Linked DNA regions of Homo sapiens: regions 1, 2 and 3 are each linked to region 4. Evidence: promoter capture Hi-C in 16 types of primary human blood cells and fetal thymus (Javierre and others, 2016). All regions are on one chromosome and are shown on one strand. Each heading gives the region's core, a stretch centred on a gene start or on the middle of the fragment in contact. The rest is flanking DNA. Distances are from core to core; before and after follow the strand shown. Region 1 holds the start of MCAM (melanoma cell adhesion molecule). Region 2 overlaps CBL (Cbl proto-oncogene). Region 3 holds the start of RNF26 (ring finger protein 26). Region 4 holds the start of HINFP (histone H4 transcription factor).

Region 1 (3,420 bases), core at 483-2,982, 200 kb after region 4:
ACCCCCACCCCGACCCGCGCCCCACCTGGGCCAGCCCTCTCCCCGTCCAGGAGATCCCAGGTCCTTGGAGCCAAGCAGAGATTGAGCAGAGACTGAGCACCGAACAGCTCCAGCTGAGGCTGGTAGAGGGGCAGAAAGGGGCAACCTAGGCTCGGGGCCAAGAGGAAGGCCCCTTTCCTTCCAGGCCCCCTCCTCTCCGGGTGAGCTCAGAGTGTGGGAATGCAAAGCATGTGCCAGGCTGGGGCACACAGGCCCTTTTGTGTCACCACCGCCAGGGGAAGACACCACTGCTCTATCCTCTGCCCTCCAAAATCCCTGCCCTCACTCCCCAGCGGGCTAACTCTGGCGGAAGTTCCGGTCTCATGCTCCCTCAGCAGCACCTCCATGAACACTCCGCACACACCCGCGGACCCCACCCTAGGTAGCTGGTAAGGATGGAGAGGTCAGAGTCTCCCCCAGGGGTCAGGGCAAGGGCCAGGCAGTGGGCAGGAGTGACGTCAGTGGTGCCAGCGTGCTGCCAGCCCTGTGAGGAGGTGATGTCACTCGACACCATCTGCCTGGGCTCTGGGATGCCTGGGTTGTTACCTTGGCTCTCGGACAAGGAGGGCAGGTGGAAGGTGGGGTCTCCAACCCAGAGCCTCAGACCCCTGACTCCTCCCAGAGCTAGAAGAGCAGGGCAGGGTGGAGCTGGACCGGCTGCAACTGTGGAGCCCGATTTAGCCCTTTCCCCAGAAATAAAGTCAGCCTGGGAGGCAGTAGCCTGGAATACCCCAGGGACATGGTTGGCACTGGGCATGAGGCCAGCGAGCTGGGTATTGCCTAGCCCTCCCCTTCCCCAGCCGGACAGCGGCTGGGACGGCGGAATGGGAGCCAAGAGAAACACGCGACACCGCTGCGGGCCATACAAGGGCAGCGTGGACCCGAGAGCGCCCTGCTACCAGGCGGATCCGGAGAAACGCTCCGAGGTGCCCGGGCGCACTTCCCACCTGAATGTGGTCCCCAAAATAAGCCAGCGGGCGCTTCCAGTATGGGAATCCTCCATCCCTCATCTCTGTCCCCTATGATCCCATCACTCGGGGAGGCGCGAGGCGACCCACACCGCCCCGCAACCCCTGCCAACGCCCAGCTCGGGCGGGAGCCGCCGAACCTCCCGCTCTCGCTCACCTCCAGCCTGGCGTGATGCCCAGGCAGAAGGGGGAAGGGGTGGGTCGGCGCACCCCCTCCAGCGAAGGAAGCTGCCTTTTCCAGCAACAGGCGGGCGCGGAATTCAGGCTTTGAGGATGCGCCCCAGCTGCGCCTCCTGCCCGGCTTCAATTGCGGGCCCCCAGAGTGAGCACCTCAGGGACCACCCACCCCCCAGCACCCCGAAAGGCTGAGCTCCACCCCTTCTCGTTCCCAGAAGCAGCCTCCTCCCCGCCTTCCGAGTGCTGCTCCCGGGATACTCTAGAATCCCGGCTGCAAACTGGCTGCAAAGAAGAGTTGCTCGCGCGCAAGGCGCCCGGGGATCGGGGACCCAGGGAGGAGGCTCGTCCTCCCAGACGCAACGCCCCGACCCCGCCGCGCCGCTGGCTCTGCTCCCTGGCACGCTCCACCGCAGACCCCTAGCCGGGGCGCGGCCCCCCTGCGAGCGAACTCACCCGCGACGCGAGGACAGCAGCAGCAGGCGGCGAGCAAGAAGGCGCAGACCAGCCTGGGAAGCCCCATGCTTCCCGGCCGGAGGGCGAGAGCCAAGTGAGCAGCTCGAGGCTGCCGGGGGCTGACGTCAGGGGGGCGGGGGAGGGGGCCCGGAGCGCCCGGGCCCGCCCCGCCCCGCGCAGCCCCCAGCCCCCGCCCCGCGCGCCGCAGCCCTAGGGGGCGGGCCCCGGCGCCGCCAGCCCGGGAGCTGCGCCTAGGAGCGCTGCCGGAGGTAGGCCAGAGCCGGACTCCCAGGCTCCTGGCTTGGGAAGGCTGAGGGGGTAGTGACAGGTGTCTCGGGGTCTGACTGGCCGAGGTGGCAGCGAGGAGAAGCTGTCCCGGATGCCCGGAGTCGCCCCGGGTCGAAGCCAGCCAGGCTCACCGCTGCTCAGCCCCTGCCAGCCAATGTAGCCCCTAGGGGACCTCCTGGGGGAGGAGCAGTAGCGGACCTGGTCCTCGGTGTCCCCAAGGGGCCTCCCACTTGGGCTCCCCTCCCTTGCCACAGAGAATTCAGGCCGGCCTCTATCGCTTCCCAGAACGATTGCACCACTGCCGCTGCCGCCGGCCTGACACTGCCTCAGCCTCAGTGCTGGCAGCTTTGGGAGAAGAACCCTGCGCCAGTCCCACAGACCCAGAAGTACCTGTATGGGGAGTGCAGACGATGCCTTCTGGGCTGTCCCTTCAAACGCAAGCTCCTGCAAGTCTAGCCTTTGACCAGAGAAAGGAAGGAGGGGGCTGAATTCGCAGGCCCAAGGTGTTCACACTTGTCCAGACCTGGGCCTTGAGAATCATGTTTCTTCCCTCTTCACTCTGGAGCCTACCCTGGAACTCAGTTTCCCCTCACCTAAGAGAAAGAAACAGGGAGAAGAAAGAGTTAATGGGCGAGGGTCCCCAGCCTGACCCTGCAAACCTGTTGCTGTTCCTGATGATTGAAAGGATCCCGGCAGCGCTGATCTTCCCCCACCCCATGTCTTCCCCAGCCCTATTGATTGTGGGTCCATAGCTGAGGGAAGAATCAAATCAGACCTGCTTGGGTGGGGAGCTCTGCAGCTCCCCTTCTCCCAAAACGCCGGCTTCTCCCTGGGTCTTCTGGCCTCTTGAACTAAGGCTCTAGGGAGGGGGAGGTGCTCTTGCCTCACTCTGACCCCAGCAGCCTGGCCTCAGAAAAGGGGTCCACATCTGCTGGCGCGCCTCCACCAGGGAGTGCCAAATAGGGGCCTGGATTTGGGTAGAGGTCTGTTGCCCAGCGGGGCCACCCCTTTGCTCGCTGGGGGAGGTGGAGGGTGAGCCAGCAAACCCTGGAGATGGCCAGGTGACTTGAGAGCATGCTCCGGGGTGGCGTTTTGATGACGCAGAGATGACTGGAAAACCACACCAGGCTTGTCTTTCAGAGCCTTCTCGACCCCTCCTCCAATGCCATTAGTCTCCAGCCAGAGGCTGTGCAGAGCCCAGGCCCACCGGGCCAGGGGCCTGGAGCCTGGAGCCTGCAGGGAGAACAAGAGGAGGACGCTGGCTCGCCCTCCAGAGTGAATGTATGGACTGGCCCCAGGCCCAGAGCTGACTAGATGAGAATGTTTTGTCTGCTGGGCTGGAGTGGGAATGGCTGAAGGATGCCGTTTGCCCTGGCAGGCCCGGCTGGGCATGGAGCTGGCTTCCCTGCCCAACCCCCTTCCTTCACTTAACACCATTAACTAATCATTCGCCTCTCTGGCCTGAAAACAAAGCCAGCTAACCACCAAGGACAGT
Region 2 (3,652 bases), core at 1,153-3,652, 180 kb after region 4:
TGTCCTTCCAGGGCCTAGAGACATTTGTGTTCTATACTCTGGACCTGTAAGCTCCTTTTTTTTCTCATTGCATTGATGAAATTCTTTTATGTGGGGGTGGTGAACACTCAATTCCCATGTTAACTAGCCTACCAGATTGAAAGTTCAAGAAGCCTGCTCTCACAGGATCCTTTGCTGATCTTCCAAGGTGGAATGTGGATAGAAATGTTTATTGAATGATCTGAGATGACACTGGAGTCATTGGCATCGGTGGCTATTAACCTTGTCAAGAATAACCTTTGGCATGTTCAAAAATGAAAGCTGCAGTGTTGGTGCAGATTTTATTTTCTATTTTTATCTCTGTTTACATGGTGTTTGGCCCACAGTAGACAATCAGTAACTGTTGAATGAGATAAATGATTGCATACATGTAAAAATGAATGGCTGCCCCGTATTGAAATGTATTAGAAGATGAAGTGCGTCAGAAGAAGATAACATCACTCATTTTTCTCCAGGTGAAGGGAATTTGGCCGCAGCCCATGCCAACACTGGTCCCGAGGAGTCAGAAAATGAGGATGATGGGTATGATGTCCCAAAGCCACCTGTGCCGGCCGTGCTGGCCCGCCGAACTCTCTCAGATATCTCTAATGCCAGCTCCTCCTTTGGCTGGTTGTCTCTGGATGGTGATCCTACAACAAGTGAGTCTCCAGACTACTTTGGGTTTGTCCTGAATGGCAGTGTGGCCTGTATGTTTATATTGAAAGGGAGATGACCTTCTCTGGTGACAGTAAGTCAGTATGTAGGCTAAACATTATGTCTAAATGGGAGGAAAGTCCCAAGTTAGGAAGTTAGACTGTAGTCAGACTCTTTAGGATTTTTGCAGACTTAGAAAAGAGGTCATTCCTTAAACTCTGGCTCTTCTTATGTTAGGGGTAGGTAGGATTTATAGTTTCTCTGAGTATGCCTTATGACACTGGTAATTAGGCTTGATGGCTCAGAGCACACATTCCTTTTTCCTGGGCTCTGTTCCATTGGAAAGAAGGCATGCTAGCTCTGGAACACACACTGAATGGGCCTGGAGCCAGCCCATGTTGGGCCTTGACTACTGGAGGCTGCTCTTCTTGCACCTGTGGCTGCCTGGTAGGGCAGCAGCCAGAGTTGCTGTCACTTTGGAATTGAAGACAGCCTTCAGGACAGACAGCTGGTGAAAAAGAATACAGCCTTCGCTTGCCCAGACGAGCAATGTCCCCCACTCAGCCTTGGCTAATGCTTCTTCATTGCAACTTATATCTGTCTTTTTCCTTATTTGTAGAAGGCGAAGTTTAGTATCTTTGGTCCCCTCAGAATTAAAACAGACAATTACATGTGCACAAACATGTTGCTTAGTGTAAAGCATGATGCAGATGTTTATGATTGCAGTGGTTATTGTTCATAGGACAGGTGCATGGTATATTTAGAAGGTTGTTTTTATTGTGATGAGGAGGCTATATCTTAAAACCCTTGAACCTGTAAAACCCAGCCTTGTGACTGAAGAGCACATGTACCCAGTTTACAGGAAGTCAGTAATATCTTGATATTAGCACATTTTTATTGCTGTTGTTAAATGAGGATTTCCCCAGATTTGCAAATATTTTCTTTCCTATTTCTTCTAGATGTCACTGAAGGTTCCCAAGTTCCCGAGAGGCCTCCAAAACCATTCCCGCGGAGAATCAACTCTGAACGGAAAGCTGGCAGCTGTCAGCAAGGTAGTGGTCCTGCCGCCTCTGCTGCCACCGCCTCACCTCAGCTCTCCAGTGAGATCGAGAACCTCATGAGTCAGGGGTACTCCTACCAGGACATCCAGAAAGCTTTGGTCATTGCCCAGAACAACATCGAGATGGCCAAAAACATCCTCCGGGAATTTGTTTCCATTTCTTCTCCTGCCCATGTAGCTACCTAGCACACCATCTCCCTGCTGCAGGTTTAGAGGACCAGTGAGTTGGGAGTTATTACTCAAGTGGCACCTAGAAGGGCAGGAGTTCCTTTGGTGACTTCACAGTGAAGTCTTGCCCTCTCTGTGGGATATCACATCAGTGGTTCCAAGATTTCAAAGTGGTGAAATGAAAATGGAGCAGCTAGTATGTTTTATTATTTTATGGGTCTTGAGTGCATTTGAAGGTGTCCTTCAGTTCCCACGTAGAGAGAGTGTGGATTATATTACATGATAACCTACCTGGGGAACAGTCCAGAAAGCTATAGAACAAGTATTTTGCTGGAAATCCTAATTGAGGACTTAAGACTTCCTGGGTTAAGGATGTGGCCGTGTGTGTGTGTGTCTGCCTGTGGTTGTATGTGTCCTTGTGATTATAAGATTAACCTGCTGTGTGTGTTAATTCCAGGCAGGGAATTAGCACAAAAGGTTTAGGAAGGAATCTTTTTTTAAAGACTTCCATCTACTGTGGTATTATACCCAAGCCTAGTGTGTATTACAACTTCAACACTCCCCTTTGGCTTATATTACCATGTGCATAGCTAAAGTCTTCTATTTTTAGAACACCTTCTGTCTGTTCTTTCCCCATCAACTCCTTCCTCATCCTTCTTGGTGTTCTGTCATGGGCCATGGGCTTGCTATGGCCAGCCTTACTGAGGCCAAGCAGCTTATGGGATGTTCTTTATTGTGTGTGATGGTATTGGTTTGTTTGGTAGATAAGTGGGAGGAAAAGTACTGTTGCTACACTATTATAGGCATGTTTGATACTAGCAGCTAACACTGGTCACTCCAAAGCACTGTTTCTATAGGAACATTGAAGCTATTAAGATGTTTTGATTATCCTAATTACATAATGACCGATTTGAGATAGAGGCCTTTAAATACATTCCATGCCCTCCCCAGAAAATAGTCTGTGGGAGTCAGTTGCCTTGGTGCCAGGTATGTGTTCTGATGTAGGTCATGAGTCTTTCTACTTAATGGGAAGGGAAGAACATTTGTTTCCAGGATGACTTTCTGGCCAGAATACCGGAAAGCTTTTAGGAAGCTTCGTTCACATGCTATTTAAATGCACAAAATAGACAGTAAGGATTTATCTGTTCAGTTTTTCTTCCCAGTGAATTAATTTCAGCTTATATGGGTGTCTTCATTTGAACATGAGGAATATTAGGTTATATTTTCAGCAGTGGTTTTTTCCTTTGCCCTTTAAGGAGTGGGGATAATGTCCACGGTGGCCCAGCCTCTTGCTGATGGCACCTTCCCTGCATTGCTGCCTCCCGATGATGTGGTTCTTTTCTTGTGCCTGTGGCTTTGGGAATGTAACATCTCTTTCCTCCTTTCCTTCCCTTTTCCTCTTCACCTGAGGTCCTAAATACTCTCTGTAATTACTGTGTTCTTCACGGTAATTAGACATCATTCAGTGAATAAATTACTGTAGTCAAAGACAGTATGGGCTGGCAGTTTGTGTAATTGCAAGTTCATAAAGAGAATTGAGGGTCCAGTTGGGAGAACTATTAGTCAGTTCTTTTATATGCTGATAAATGATCCCTCGAGTTCAGTTAGTATTCTGTCCAGAGTGTTTAGCTCACTTTCTTAGCAGTGTGTAAGCTTTCTCCATGTCAGAAGCAAGCCTGCTCTTTGATAAATCTGTCTTCCTGAAAATCTAAATCATGCTTTTGTCTTTAGATCTACACAGAAATGACCCTC
Region 3 (3,524 bases), core at 273-2,772, 210 kb after region 4:
AGGGTGGAGGAAGTGGTGTCAAGTGCTGGAGGAAGATTGATTAATAACAACATAGTGTTCACTGGACAAATAAGATCCCTTAAGAGGAGATGGTACGGGCGATGGGATCAACTGTCTTGAAAGGGAGGTGGGCACATTCTCCAAGATTTGACACTGGCGGGAGGATGCGAGTAGGAAAATAAAAACATCAGCAACACATCACAACACAACAAACCATAACCTGGCCAGGGCCTGAGAGCAGGGAGAGAGAAAGGGTAGGAAGAAGCCAGAGGAGTTTCAGCGACTGCAGTCCTTCCTCTGCACTATAGCGTACCCCTACCACGATCCCAAGGCCTCAGTAAAGGTTTGCTGCACACCTCAGCTTCTTATCAGTGATGCTTTGGAGAATGAAGGACTCTGAGGCAGTGTTCAGGGCAGACTGAAGGAGGACGGACACTTTCAGGAGCCCAGGAGTGGAGATGGAGAATTCAACTCAAGTAGGAAATTCAGCAAAGGTGACCAGGGGAAAGATAAGTCCACTAGGAGTCTGCTAAGCATCCTTGGAGTTAGTAGAAAACGCCAGGATTCCCAATATATTTGGGATGGGGTTTCAAATATATTTTGACTATTGTTTGAGTATTAAAGAAAAGGGCAGGGCCGGGCTTGGTGGCTCACGCCTGTAATCTCAGCACTTTGGGAGGCCGAGGCGGGTGGATCACGAGGTTCAGGAGTTCGAGGCCAGCCTGGCCAACATGGTGAAACCTCGTCTCTACTAAAAATACAAAAATTAGCCGGGTGAGGTGGTGGGCACCTGTACTACCCGGGAGGCTGAGGCAGGAGAATCGCTTGAACCCGGGAGGCAGAGGTTGCAGTGAGCCGAGATCGCGCCACTGCACTCTAGGGTAGGAAGGCCCAGGGTAGGAAGCTGAGCGGTTTCTAAATCTGTAGCCCCTTTTTCTCAATGACAATGAAGTAATCTTCCGAGATGTTGAAAAACCTGGTGAGGAAAGTTTGGAATAGCAGTTTGGGAATCCCCTGTAATAATCTGCTTTCCCTTGTGAACAGCAGGCACTGTCTTAAAATTTTTTTGTATCCTCAATGCACTGTAGGAGTTCAATAAATGATAGAATAGATGAATAAATAGAAGAGAATGAGGAGACGGATCTGGGCAGGCTGCGAAGGCGGTGCTATTCCAAAGCCCAGCCCAGAGGCAGTGACCTCCGACCCAAGCCAAAAAAAAAACCTCGCGTTCAGAGGCCGGGAGAAAGAACAGCTCCCAAATTGAGGGGAGTCCAAGACCCTGCTCTTTTAGAGGGTGGGGCTAGGAGAGCGTATTTCGACGCTGCCCGCCAACGAACCAATCCCCGCCTAAAGGGGGAGGGGATTTAATCTGTCGCCTCTCCTTCCCTTTGGAAAGTAAATACGTTCGGGCGCCATTCAAACGGACCAATGAGTGATCGACGTTTTTGTGGTTGGCCTTCACCGATTGGCTGGAGTTTGTCGTCCCTCCCTCCTCGTCACGCCTCTGGCTCCACCCCTTTGCACACAAGATGGCGGCGCCCAGCGGAGTAGGGGCTGCGCTTGGGGTTTGCTGAAGCTGGCTGCCTCTCCCACTCCCCTTTTGGGTGCAAAGCGCCGCTAGCGGGAAGACGGGGGCCGGGCGGGGACAGGGGCACCTGCGTAGCTGGACTGAGAGCCTGCGCCCAGCTTACATCGACCCCACCCGGCCCCGGCCCGACCCGACGCGACCCGATCCGATCCGATCCCATTCCATCCGTTCCTCGTCTCCTCCCGGTCTGACCCGTTGCCCGGCCGTGGTTCGCCACACCAGGCATCCAAAGCTGAGGTCGCTCCTACGGCCTGGGCTCGCCTTCGCTTTAGAGATGTTTGGCCTCTTCCCTCCCAAACAGCCCATCTTCAAAACCTGGACTCTTGGACTGGCACCTGGCCACCTTTCCCTCTACCAAGACTCCACTTCCGTCTTACCCACTTCTTCCTCAGATTCTTGGTACCCCCTGGGTTGGAGACTGCTCATTTTCCTTCCAAATTAATCCCAGACCCCCTAAAATATTGACAACCTTGACAACCCCCCAACCGAGGAGCCAGACTTTGTTTTGGACTAACTTCCATAGCCCTATCATGGAGGCAGTGTACCTGGTAGTGAATGGGTTGGGCCTGGTGCTGGACGTGCTGACCTTGGTGTTGGACCTCAACTTCCTGCTGGTGTCCTCCCTCCTGGCTTCCCTGGCCTGGCTCCTGGCCTTCGTCTACAACCTGCCGCACACGGTACTGACTAGTCTTCTGCACTTGGGCCGCGGAGTCTTGCTTTCATTGCTGGCCTTGATCGAAGCCGTGGTCCGGTTCACATGTGGGGGCTTGCAGGCCTTGTGTACTCTGCTGTATAGCTGCTGCTCTGGCCTAGAGAGCCTAAAGCTCCTGGGGCACCTGGCCTCTCATGGGGCACTGCGGAGCAGGGAGATACTGCACCGGGGCGTCCTCAATGTGGTCTCCAGTGGCCATGCTTTGCTGCGCCAGGCCTGTGACATCTGTGCCATTGCCATGAGCCTGGTGGCTTATGTGATCAACAGCCTGGTCAACATCTGCCTCATCGGCACTCAGAACCTCTTTTCCCTGGTGCTGGCCCTGTGGGATGCAGTGACCGGGCCTCTGTGGAGGATGACGGACGTAGTGGCTGCCTTCCTAGCCCACATTTCCAGCAGTGCTGTGGCCATGGCCATCCTCCTTTGGACACCCTGCCAACTAGCCCTGGAGCTGCTGGCCTCAGCTGCCCGCCTCCTGGCCAGCTTTGTGCTTGTCAATCTCACTGGCTTGGTGTTGCTAGCTTGTGTGCTGGCAGTGACGGTGACTGTGTTGCATCCGGACTTCACCCTGAGGCTGGCTACCCAGGCACTCAGCCAGCTCCATGCCCGGCCATCCTACCACCGTCTTCGAGAGGATGTCATGCGGCTCTCTCGCCTAGCACTGGGCTCAGAGGCCTGGCGCCGAGTCTGGAGCCGCAGTCTGCAGCTGGCGAGTTGGCCAAACCGGGGAGGGGCACCTGGAGCTCCCCAGGGTGACCCTATGAGGGTATTCTCAGTTAGGACCCGGAGACAGGACACTCTTCCTGAAGCGGGGCGCAGATCAGAGGCAGAAGAGGAGGAGGCCAGGACCATCAGAGTGACACCTGTCAGGGGCCGAGAGAGGCTCAATGAGGAGGAGCCTCCAGGTGGGCAAGACCCTTGGAAATTGCTGAAGGAGCAAGAGGAGCGGAAGAAGTGTGTCATCTGCCAGGACCAGAGCAAGACAGTGTTGCTCCTGCCCTGCCGGCATCTGTGCCTGTGCCAGGCCTGCACTGAAATCCTGATGCGCCACCCCGTCTACCACCGCAATTGCCCGCTCTGCCGCCGGGGCATCCTGCAGACCCTCAATGTCTACCTCTGAAGCCTCCTTCCCTGCCTGCCCACCCCTCCATGCTCCACGCAGGCACTCACGCTAGGACAGCATTAACACCTCATCTCCGGGTCCTGGTCTGAATCCCCTCCTAC
Region 4 (3,606 bases), core at 227-2,726:
GGCTGGTGTGCAGTGGTGCCATCTCAGCTCACTGCAACCTGTGCCTCCTGGGTTCAAGCGATTCTCCTGCCTCAGCCTCCCGAGTAGCTGAGATTATAGGCGCCCGCCACGATGCCCAGCTAGTTTTTGTATTTTTAGTAGAGACGGGGTTTCCCCATGTTGGCCAGGCTGGTCTTGAGCTCCTGACCTCATGTGATCCACTCGCCTCGGCCTCCCAAAGTGCTGGGATCACAGGCGTGAGCCACGACACCCGGCCCACTGATGGAGTTATAAAGGTGAAGAACTAGTCTAGTGAAGAATGCAGACTGAGAGTAAACAGACAAATACAATGTGACTGAGCTGTATTGTTAAATACAAGAAAGGACTATCAGGAAGACTTTTTGGAAAAAGAAGCATCTACACTGAGACCATAAAAATTAGTAGGAGTCAGTCAAATAAATGTGGGAGGAGGAGAAAGGGATTATTCCAGGTAAAGAAAACAAGTTCAAGGCTTGAGAGGTAAAAGGTGGCTTGGTGTGGTGGAAAAGGTGAAAGAAATTTGCGACTGGAGAGCAAGAAATATGGTCGAGAAGGACTAAAAAAAAGTAGACAGGGAGAGCCCAGATGCTGAAGGGTCTAGAAAACCTCAGTATGGTTTTGGAGCTTTGCCCTGAAAGCAATAGAATGCCTTTGAATTGTCTGAAGCAGATGGTAACTTGATCAGGTCTGCTTTTTGCAAAGTGGAGAATGCTTTGGAAGGAAGCAAGTGTGCACGCAGCGGGACCCATTAGACTAATGTATAAATCCTGCCTGGAGGTCATCACTGGACAGGGGAGGTGGGGGAGGCGGTGAAGATAAACAAAAGGGGATAAATTTGAAATATCCTGTTTTAAAAGGAGGTAGAATCCACAGAACTTGGCAATGGATTGGATGTGAGAAGTGAGAGGAATCAGTGATGACTGCCAGCTTTCTGACCTGAACGAGTGGATGAAGGGAAGCCGAGTTTTGGGGGGAAAGAGAAACATATAATACCAACATTTAAAACATAATAAGACTAAGAGGCTGAAGGAAAGGGTAGAACCTTCAATCTGAGCCGAGCGGGGCCGACAGCGCTGGGCAGCATCCCACGCCTTTTTCTCCGCGAGGCCCACGCAACCAGCCAACTAAAGCGAAGAACCACGTGAGGGAGACCCCACTGCGCACCAGGCGCGAGCCCTGCGCATGCCCGTTGGGTCCCGGAGGCCGAGCCTGCGCAGTTAGGGGAACTCAGGCCCATAGGCTCCCCGCCTTTGCGTTGCCCTGAGCAGCGAGGCGCGGTCACGTGCTACCTTTTGCACGTATCCTGTCGCCCCTCTGTCCGCCCGGGACGCCTAGCCCCACCCACTGTTCCCGCCCCTTCCGTGTTTTGGTGCGCACGGGTTCCGCCAGACACAGCTACCATTGGCTGTCAGTCGGATCCGAGAACGACGATTGGCTTTCCTTGACCGTCCCTCAAGCGCCTCTCCGGAGATGGTCTGAGGTGGGAGAAGAGCTGAAGAGACCTGGAGCCGACAGACGGTAAGCTGGGGTATGTGCTCTGCAGGGGCTGCAGGAGGCCAAGCTCTTCCCGAGCCACCTCGGCGAGTATTCTTGCCGCTTGGCCACGCTGGTCTGCCCTGGTCCGGTCCCCTCACCCCGACTGGAACCTCCCTGCTTTCTAGTCTAGGGGCTTCGCTGCGGCTGAGACTCGGTCGCCGCCACGCCTTAGCGTGAAGGATTCCGGGAAGCCTGCGGGACTGCGAGTGGAGAGGTTTTGCCCAACGGGACGGTCTCCTTCCTTCTGTCCAAATTCTACCTGTCCTTCGAGGCGTGGTGCGGGCCCCACTGCTTAGGGGAGACTTCCTTTTCGCCTGACCGCGGAGGTGTCTCTCTGTCCTGGTCTCCCTCATCGGGTACTTTGTTTCGGTCGTTGTCTTCACGTATCAGTCTTATCTTTTTGGCCAAATTATGAGTTCTTAGGCGTTTAGGACCCTTTTTTTCTTGAATACCACAGTTCATTCATTGTCTTGCGTTACAGTATATGCCCTCTTAAGTGTTAAGAGGGTAGAGTGAAGATCATGCCCCTATCTCCTCAGAGTAGAAACAAGAGACACAGAAAGAGAAATTAAAGAAGACAGGAGGACAGTCAGAGAGCGTCAGGGAGTTTTGCCTAGGTTTCAGATCATTCTGTATCGCCAGCTAGCTTGCCTCCTTGGACTTACCCACCAGTCTAACAGCAGGTGTATGTTTAGAATATTTGTGCTCGGCACAGTGTAGGGACACGGGCAGGTGTGATATGGTTTCTGCTCAGAAGCTTCTTATAGTCCAATTGGGTAAACGAGACTAGAACACATAAAACGACCATGGCAACATGAAAATAGGGTTGAAGTTTTATGGTGTCAGCTGTGCCAGCCATAGAACTAAGGAGCAAGAGTAGATTCAGGGATGGGGTAGTTTAGGAAGGCTTCCCGGAATGTGATTATCTCCTGATATTTATTGAGTACCTGGGGTGTGCAAAGCTCTGTGCTGAATCTGAGAATGAGAAGTGAATAAGTGATGGCCACTGTCCTGAGAAACTCCTAGTCTAGGGGAAACAAGTTTCATTGCATTGATAGCAAAGATGTGTGTGGATGCCGTGGGCAAGAGATGGGATATGCCAGCTGTACCTGGATGAATTGGGAAGGGGGTCATCAAAGAGAAGACTTTGGGGTTTGAAAGGCGAATAGAAGTTGCATAGGTAGGCCTGTCGCGGTGGCTCACACCTGTAATCCCAGCACTTTGTGAGGCCGAGGCGGGCGGATCACTTGAGGTCAGGAGTTTGGGACCAGCCTGACCAACATGGCAAGACCTCGTCTCTACTAATACTACAAAAATTAGCTGGGCGTGGTGGTGCGTGCTTATAGTCCCAGCTATAATACTTCGGAGGCTAAGTCACGAGAATCGCTTGAACCTGGGAGGCGGAGGTTGCAGTGAGCCCAGATCACAGCACTGCACTCCAGCCTGGGCGACAGAGCAAGACTCCATCTCCAAAAAAAAAAAAAAAAAAAAAAAGAACTTGCGTAGGCAGAGAGTTTTAGGAGAATGTAGAGTATTCAGAGACAAAGATGATTGAATCAGAGGAAGAGGGAATGAAGTATGGGTGAGGAAGCCAGAGAACAGCATCATGTGGGAGAAAGAGCATGATCTTTGGATTGGAATGAGGGTGCTCTTACATCAGATGAAGTGTAGAGAGGACTCACCACAGGGCTGACACACTGTAGCTTCTCAATAGATGTTCGTTTCCCTACCTAGAACTGGAGAAGTAAAATTGAGACCACTTTGAGAAGAGCCTTGCATTTCATACTGTAATAGTCAGAGGAGGTGTGGGATTTTATGACTTTTGAAGCTTTTTTCTACTTTTCTTACCACAACATTATAAAAGCAGTCAATATTCAATATTTCTTTCTTCTTTTTTTTTTTTTTGACAGGGTCTGGGTCTGCCGCCCAGGATGGAGTACAATGGTGTGATCTTGGCTCTTTGCAACCTCTGCCTCCTGGGCTCAAGCCTTCCTCCCACCTGAACCTCCCAAGTAGCGGGACTGCAGGTGCATGCTACCACATCGGCTGTTT

What was found. Contacts are between HindIII fragments. The CHiCAGO score rates a contact against its expected background, and 5 or more counts as called.
Region 1: the fragment with the promoter of MCAM here is called in contact with the fragment with the promoter of HINFP in region 4 in 13 of 17 cell types (naive CD4 T cells, fetal thymus, endothelial precursors and 10 more); the score reaches 12.4 in naive CD4 T cells.
Region 2: a fragment that was not itself captured here is called in contact with the fragment with the promoter of HINFP in region 4 in 9 of 17 cell types (endothelial precursors, fetal thymus, naive CD4 T cells and 6 more); the score reaches 7.4 in endothelial precursors.
Region 3: the fragment with the promoter of RNF26 here is called in contact with the fragment with the promoter of HINFP in region 4 in 7 of 17 cell types (naive CD4 T cells, fetal thymus, endothelial precursors and 4 more); the score reaches 8.3 in naive CD4 T cells.

Annotation. Positions count from the first base shown.
Region 1 is chr11:119,315,398-119,318,817 of GRCh38, forward strand. MCAM (melanoma cell adhesion molecule) reads right to left here and starts at 1,733. Exons shown (of 16, transcript NM_006500.3): 1 at 1,638-1,733. The coding sequence starts at 1,704. RefSeq lists enhancers at 1-419, 3,313-3,362 and a silencer at 2,012-2,071. The HindIII fragment of the contact is 17,882 bases long and covers 1-3,420 here.
Region 2 is chr11:119,297,864-119,301,515 of GRCh38, forward strand. CBL (Cbl proto-oncogene) reads left to right here. Exons shown (of 16, transcript NM_005188.4): 15 at 495-677; 16 at 1,632-3,652. The coding sequence ends at 1,918. Among named protein-coding and RNA genes, the nearest start is that of MIR6756, 13 kb to the right of the region's middle. The HindIII fragment of the contact is 1,156 bases long and covers 1,825-2,980 here.
Region 3 is chr11:119,333,005-119,336,528 of GRCh38, forward strand. It overlaps RNF26 (ring finger protein 26), which reads left to right and starts at 1,523. Exons shown (of 1, transcript NM_032015.5): 1 at 1,523-3,524. The coding sequence starts at 2,119. The coding sequence ends at 3,420. RefSeq lists an enhancer at 1,165-2,056. The HindIII fragment of the contact is 9,565 bases long and covers 1-3,524 here.
Region 4 is chr11:119,120,104-119,123,709 of GRCh38, forward strand. It overlaps HINFP (histone H4 transcription factor), which reads left to right and starts at 1,477. Exons shown (of 10, transcript NM_198971.3): 1 at 1,477-1,536. RefSeq lists a silencer at 1,211-1,490. The HindIII fragment of the contact is 5,005 bases long and covers 1-2,309 here.